Regions from separate parts of the Homo sapiens genome. Here region 2 is linked to region 1. Evidence: promoter capture Hi-C in 16 types of primary human blood cells and fetal thymus (Javierre and others, 2016). All regions are on one chromosome and are shown on one strand. The core of a region is centred on a gene start or on the middle of the fragment in contact, and the rest is flanking DNA. Distances in the headings are between cores, read along the strand shown.

Region 1 (3,648 bases), core at 1,110-3,609:
CCATTTCTGAGAAGAGGTATTATTACAGATATGTGTATAAAAGCAGTATAAAGACATCTCTTTGACTCTTGCATAGATGTTGGCTCAGCTCAAGCTGAGGGCATGGTCAGGGTCTTGTGCCAGTCAGGGCCCAAGAGAGGACATCTCTTACATGGGGAGCCCACGAGGGGCTGACAGGCCACCAGGATGTACAGATCCCTGCCCGCCTTCCCAAGTTCTGTGGTAAATAGAGGGGGTTGAGGGAGTCAGGTTCCAGGGCAAACCTAGACAGTCGAGGTAAACTACTGTCCCTCAAGCCTTCTCCCCAACCAGGTCTTTTACTCCCTACTGCCAAGGAGAGATACTCTTGATGGCACCCAACCTGCTGTCCCCTTCCTGGGGGACACTTGGGGTCTACAGGGTCTTTGGAGCAGCAGGTGGGAGTGGAGGCACAGGGGGTGCACAGCAGCTCCCACCAAATGGCTGCATGGGTGGCTGGGATGCCAAAGGAAGCCTGCATGGGATTAAGAGCCTCAGCATGGCAGGCAGAGCCAGCAGCACTGTGAGGCTCCCTTAGGCCTGGGGCAAACCTGAGAAGGGAGTGGGTTCCCTGGACATGTAAAGCTGGTTCTAAGTCATTGAGGTCCACCCAGAAAAAGAATGTCCTCAGAAATGATGCTGACAATCAAAACCACAATGAAATGCCATTTCGCCCCCAATAGGATGACTAGAATAAAAAAAGACACACAATTACAAGTGTTTGCAAAGATGTGGAGATATTGGAACCCTCATATGTTGTTGGTGGGAATGTAAAATGGTGCAGCTGCTTTGGAAAACAGTTTGGCAGTTCCCCCAAAAGTTAAACATGGAGTTAACATATGATCCAGGAATTCCACTCTTAGGTATATACCCAAGAGAAAGAAAAGCATATGTTCATACAAAGACTTGTACATGAATATTCATAGCAGCTTTATTCACAGTAGCCCCAAAGCAGAAAACTAAATATCCATCAAGTGATGCAGGGATAAACAAAACGTATAGACATACAGTGAAATATTACTCAGTCATGAAAAGGAATGAAGTACTGCTACATGTTACAACATGAATAGATCATTAAACATTGGTTACTGAAAGAAGCTAGTCATAGTCACAAAAGGCCACATGTTGTATGATTCCGTTTATAGAAAATGTCCTGAATAGGGAAATCCATAGAGATTGAAAGTAGATTAGTGGTTCCCAGAGGCGGAGGAAAGGGGTGAATGAGGAGTGACTGCTAACGGGTAGTTCTTTTTGTGAGGGGCAGGGGAGGGGAGTGGGAAGTGGTGAAAATGTTCTGGAATTAGCTCATGGTGATGGTTGCAAAACTTTGTGAATATGCTAAACACCACTGAATCGTACACTTTTTTTTTTTTGAGACAGCGTCTCACTCTGTTGCCCAGGCTAGAGTGCAGTAGCGCAATCTCGGCTCACTACAACCTCTGCCTCCCGGGTTCACGTGATTCTCCTGCCTCAGCCTCCCGAGTAGATGAGATCACAGGCACGTGCCGCCATGCCGGGTTGACTTTTGTATTTTTAGTAGAGACGGGGTTTCACCATGTTGCCTAGGCTGGTCTTGAACTCCTGACCTCAGGCGATTCACCCGCCTCGGCCTCCCAAAGTGTTAGGATTACAGGCGTGAGCCACCGCGCCCGGCTTGAATTGTACACTTCAAAAGGTGGAATTTTATGGTGTTGAATTATATCTTTATTTTTTTAACGGGGGGAAAATGACGCCGCTGGAGAGGAGTTAGCGGAACTGAAACAATGAAATGGTGCGCGAGTGTCGCCTGTCCCCGTCGCATCCATCCCAACGAAGTTTGGGCCCTGGAACGGTGCACCCAGAAGGCCTGCGGGGAGAGACGCTGGGGCATGATCTGGAAGAAAGACGTCTCAGGATTCGAAGGGAATGCAGCTAAGGTGGCGGCGGAGGTTCGCCTAGGACTGGGGAGGCGTCCCTAGGCTCAGAAGTTGGCCCGGCCGGAGCGGAGATTTAAAGGTTGGAGCGCAGAGGCTCTTAAAGAGGCCGAGTCGAATTCCCACTCGGCGTCCACCTTAAAGCCAGCTCCCCGGCACCACGGATCTGACCCGGGTAAGTGCTGGGCCGCGGGAGAGGCTGCGGCGCCGACCCCAGCCCCTGGCGCTCTAGCGCGCCCTGCCGGGCCCAGGGGACTCGGCGCGGGTGGGCTGGACTTCGTAGGCGCGCGTCCTGGGGGCCGGGGTGCACGCGGGGGCGACAGGGTCGAGGCACCCGGCCCGGGCTCCCCACTGGCGCGCCCGCAGCGGCGCTCTATTTTTAGCAGGCGCTGTGGCAATATAAGGAATGCGCGGCGCGCTAGGCGCTCGGGGCGCACGCTGGCGGCGCGGTCGCTTTAAGGAGGCGCCGGGGCGGGGACGGACCGGAGTGGCCGGCTGGCGGGGAGCCGTCAGTCCGGCGGCCGCGGGGCCCGGCGGGCGCGACGCTGCCTCCTCACCGGCGCAGGCTAGGAGGGGGCGGCCTGAGTGCCGTAGCCGAGCCGGGGCTGGAGCGCGCGGTGAGTGGTCGGGCGGCCTTGGAGGGGAGGGGGCCCGGCCGCGCCGCCTCTCGCCCCGGCCGTCGCTTTGTTCCGGGGCGGGAGGTGTGGCCGCCCTCCGGGCTCGGCCGCGCTCTCCGCTTGCGGGGTGCGCCCTGGGACCGGCTGTGCGTGGCGTTTTGCCCCCATCGCGGGCTCCCGCGTAACGGTGTGCGTTCGTGAAATCGGCCACGACCAAGACCCCAGTGGGGAGGGCCTGCGCGCCGCTCAGAGAGACCCTTTCATGGTAATTACAGTTCCTTGGCTGCCTGGGCGAGAACCCGGTGGATAGATGGGCGGCAGGACGGGGCGGCGGGGGATGGGTGGGTGGGTGGGGGACTCTTTACCCCCCCGCCTTAAGATGGCGTTAACGAGGGGAGGGATCCGCCAGGGAGTTGACAAATTCATCTGAATAATAAAACGCAGCCTGCTTCATAAACAACCCTTCACTGCCCCCGGAGGTTTGGGGAGCTGGAGCTGTGGTCACAACTAGGGCCTGGGCTCATGCATTGAACTGATCTGGCTGAGGCATCAGACACGGTGCCAGTCCTGCCCTGCGGGGAAGACAAGAGCACAAAGTGACAAGCCAGTGTGGTAAGTGCTGAGATTCGGTAAGCCCAGGGGTTGTGGGAGCCCCTAGGGGTCCCTACTGCAGAGTGGGAGGTGAGAGAAGGCCGCCTAGAGGAGTTAATGTCTGGCTGGCCGCAGCGTATACACTGGACACCCAGTTAGACTCTGGCTAGAGCTGAGGTCTGTTCTGGCCTGGGGCAAAGTGGAGTCTGGAGAGGTGGACAGAGTCCATCAAGGCCACTGGGGCCTTGATCATAGAGCTCTGCCATTGCCCCTACTCCCCAATGGCCCCTGATGGTGTGGAACCTCCCTGGCCTTGCTCCTCTAGGACTCACTCTGTCCTGGACCTGACCAGAGAGGGTGGCTGACAAGGCTCGGAATCGTGGCCTCCAGAGGTTTGTCTGGCAGCAGAAGTAAGATGGAGATATGACTTTAAGAGCTCTGAAACTCCACTGTAATAACAGCAACCAACAGGGCTTCCAAAGACCAGGCACTTGAAGTGGATTTGCTCA
Region 2 (3,860 bases), core at 611-3,110, 970 kb after region 1:
CACCTGGATGAACCCAGTGCCCAAGATGTCCATGAGGGGATCAACGGCTCCTCTTGTCCAAAGCCAGATCATAACAGCTTGAGCCCTGCCAGGGAATGAGAGGCTGATGTTGTAGCTGGAAGGGCTGGATGGGGAGGGGACATAGATAAGGGGATGCAATTCCCTGCTGGGCTAGTGTGGGAAATTAAAAAGCACAGACGATGTTTATGCCCTAGAGGTGAGTGGAGGACCAAAGGAGACCCTAGAAGCCCCAGATCTGAAGCCGACTCTAATTGCAACAGCTCCGTTGCTTGAGTAGTGGCCAGACACCTGGCACTGTGCCAGGGCTGTCATGCCTGGACTCATCCAAGCCTCCTAATAAATCACTGAGGGTGGGCATACTAATGTTAGCCTATAGGTTTGACAAACAATAAAATAAAACACAGAAAGATTGAGTACTTTGCCCAATGTCCCACAACTAGCCCACAGCAAAGTTAGGGTTTTAACCTACAGCTGTTTGGATACAAAGCCAGTGCCCCTAATCCCTGGGTGTACCACAGCTTAGAGATCAGACCAGGTGCAGCCCCATCATAGAGAGGAGAGATAGTCATTAGGGGACCTGAAAGCTTGGGGTACAGGTCTCCCCAGTGGAAGGCTGGCTCAGAGGAATTCCACATGTGGATGTGGGCCCGGGATCGCCGTTCAGCAGCTGCATATCCAGAGGACGACTGAAAGGGGAGGAACAAGGCACACAGGTGGGAGTCTCCTGCTGCTGACCACCCAGGATGGACCTGCCTGGGGAAGGCTGGAGGATTTGGCAGGGGCGAGGGAAAAGCAACTCACACTTCAATGCAAGAGCTCATCCCAACACCTTTTGAGACTGGGGTGTGGTCTCATTCTCTAGGAATCAGCGACTCAAAGAGGGACTCACAGAGGTGGAATGGTGGCTGGCTCATGGTCACCACAGTAGAGAAGCTAGTTTCAGAAGAAAACTGCAAATAAATCTTGGAATGTTCCATCTGGGACCTCAATGGCTTTGTCCTGGGAAGGTTTTGGCCAAAAAAGAGGGTGCTGTGTCTGAGATGAGGAGAGAGGTGTGAATGTCCAGCTCCTTGGGCTCTGCTCTTCTTGTCCCTGGCTGGAGCTCCTGACTCAGGCAGGCAGGGGCATCGCAGGACCCATGGGTGCAGAGCCCAGAGCCAGGACCTCAGTTTACTCTGGTTGTCTTCCTGCCTATCTGGGCTGAGATGGGGATCCAGCTCAGCAGCATGTACGGTGTCCCCCACATACCCCAGTGTCACAACTGCTCCAGCTCGGCTTCCTCAGCAGCCCTGGCTCCATGCTTAGGACCCGTGGTGGGTCCCTGGTATTCACTATGATGCTGCCTGCCCAGCCCTCTGCCCCTGCTCCAGTGCCCAACACACCAAACTTGTCAGCCCGGCCTCTGGGGCTGGCACCTGTCCAGTGTTTCCTTCTAACCCCCACCTGGGCACTGGCCTCAGAGTCATATGCTCCTGGGTTAAAAACTCTGCCACTTACTAGCTATACTCGCTGGGCAAATGACTTTATTTGTGGTGCTCGTTATTAAGCCATTGTCTCTCAGCTTCAAACCAGCGTCCCTCTGTGATGTTCTGGGATCCCACAAATCACCAGTATGCCTTGCCAGAACTCCTTGTTAGGCTCTGCCAAGAGGGGGCACTAGAGGGAGCCTGCAACACTGGTGGATGGAGAAGGGGTCAGCTCCTTTGTGTCTGTTTCCTGTTCTGTTGGCAACACCCCAGCAATGCAATGGCCCTGCACCCCAGCAGCAGCCGCTGGTTCCAGCTGTCAGTTTCCTCCCCATTCGCAGACCTGTCCCATGGGGTCCTCTGAGAGACACCCCCTCAGAAATCTGGGCCTCAGCCTTGCAGCCCCCTCCCAAGTGTCCACATCTTTATAAGCCCACACTCTCACCCTTGTTCCCTCAGCCCTAGGGGCTGTTACTGACCCTGAGGATCTTTTCATGTGCTTATTTGCCATCCCTGTATTTTCTTTGAAGTGTCTGCTCAAATCATTTGCCTATTTTAAACAATTAGATTACTTCCTTATTATTGACTTGTAAGAGGGCTTCATATATTCCTGCTGTTACTACCTCTGATGTCTCAGCATTCCCCTTTGCCTTTCTGTTCTGCAAGCCCTGGTTAACAGTGCCTTATATGAAATTCGCTTTGTCAAAAAGACATTTTCTGTCTCCCAACAGACATACTAGTCTGTGCCTCCGATTCCTCATCCATCAAAGGGGAACAGTGACTCCACCTCACAGGTGGCAGTGAGGAGTCAGCCAGAAGATGCCTGTGAAGGGCATCATGGCCCAAGGCCTGGCACCGAGGTAGGACCTGGTTCGAGTGGCTGAAGACTCAGCAGCTTCAACAGGGTCCCTATCGTGAGCCCCCAGAGCTGTGCCTTCCTGTTTGCTTTAGGCCAAGGGAAGAAGCAGAGTGCCTCTGTGGGCTCCTCTCAGCTGACGCAGAGGCGGTTTTTCCAGCCAGCTTCTCTCCTTTGAGAACTCGTGCGATAAAGGAGAACCTGGGCAACCCTGGAGTGAGGCAGGGTGAGGAGAACTGGCCCTTCTTACATGGCCTAATAGTCACATTTAAGAAGTACCCTAATGAGAGATTTTTTAAAAGTCTGGTTTTCAAATTTCACTGTTAAGAAACAAAAGGGCAGGCCATAAACTGGAGGGAATTAACTCAATGTTAAGTATACAGACAACTTAAAAAAAGCAGAAGATTTGAACAAACACTTCACAAAAGAAGATATCAGAATGGGCAGCAGGCACATGAAAAGATGCCGAATGTCATTAGTCATAGAGAAATTCAAAGTAAACTACAATGAGATATCACCACCTCCTCTCCCACTAGAATGGCTAACATTAAAAAGACAGAAGATTCTGTGCTGATGAGGATGTGGAGCAATTAGTACCCTCATACTTTGCTGGTGGGTTGCAAAAAATAAGACCATTTTAGAAAATTGATTGGCAGTTTCTTATCTAGTTAAACAGAGGCTTATCATATGACCCAGCAATCTCCTTCCTGGATATTTACCTGAGAGAAATGAAAACATTTGTCTGTATAAAGTCTCCTTTGCAAATAGTCATAGAAGCTTTATTCATAATAGCAAAAACCTAAAAATAGCCCACACGTCCATCAATAGGTGAAGGAATAAATAAATCATGACATATTGGCACAATGGAATACTAACTCATTGGTGAAATCAATAAACAACCTGTATACACAATAAATCTCAAAATCATGCAGAGTGAAAGAAATCAGACATCGAAGAGTACATGCTGGGTTATTCCATCTATATGAATCTCCAGAAAAGACAAATCCGTTCTATAATGACAGGAAGTAGCTCCGTGGCTGCTCAGAGGCAAGGCTGGGGTGGAGCACTGATGGGGAAGGGGAGCAGGGTACCTAGAGTGATGGGAGTGTTCTGTACAACAGCTGTATACATTCCCCAAGGCTTACCAAAGGGTACATCTAACATGGATGCGTTTTATTATGTGTCAGTTGCACCTCAATAAAGTTGATTTTTAAAATGTCACTTAGACATGAAACAGTCTTCATAAGACTGACATACAAGGAAGGGACCCATCACCACAGAGAGCCTCCAAATGGAGCCTCCTTTGAAGGAAACCCCCTTCAAACACCCCTGTGCTGAGCATTTTCTGTGTACACCCACTCTCCTGCCATCCTGTTCTGTGTCCAGAAGTTTGACCAGAATGGACTGCATAAAGACTCTCTTGTCCACTGTGTTCTTGTTAGATTAGACCAATGCAAGGTACCAGCAGGAGATCTAAGGGCAGGGGATAAATGGGTGGGAGTTATTTATTCCTCTAG

What was found. Contacts are between HindIII fragments. The CHiCAGO score rates a contact against its expected background, and 5 or more counts as called.
Region 2: a fragment that was not itself captured here is called in contact with the fragment with the promoter of MRAS in region 1 in 1 of 17 cell types (naive CD8 T cells); the score reaches 5.3 in naive CD8 T cells.

What each region holds. Positions count from the first base shown.
Region 1 is chr3:138,346,220-138,349,867 of GRCh38, forward strand. MRAS (muscle RAS oncogene homolog) reads left to right here and starts at 2,360. Exons shown (of 6, transcript NM_001085049.3): 1 at 2,360-2,548. RefSeq lists an enhancer at 1,872-2,827. The HindIII fragment of the contact is 4,446 bases long and covers 1-3,648 here.
Region 2 is chr3:139,318,298-139,322,157 of GRCh38, forward strand. The region is part of intron 1 of LOC124909439; the gene reads right to left. Among named protein-coding and RNA genes, the nearest start is that of MRPS22, 24 kb to the right of the region's middle. The HindIII fragment of the contact is 2,515 bases long and covers 604-3,118 here.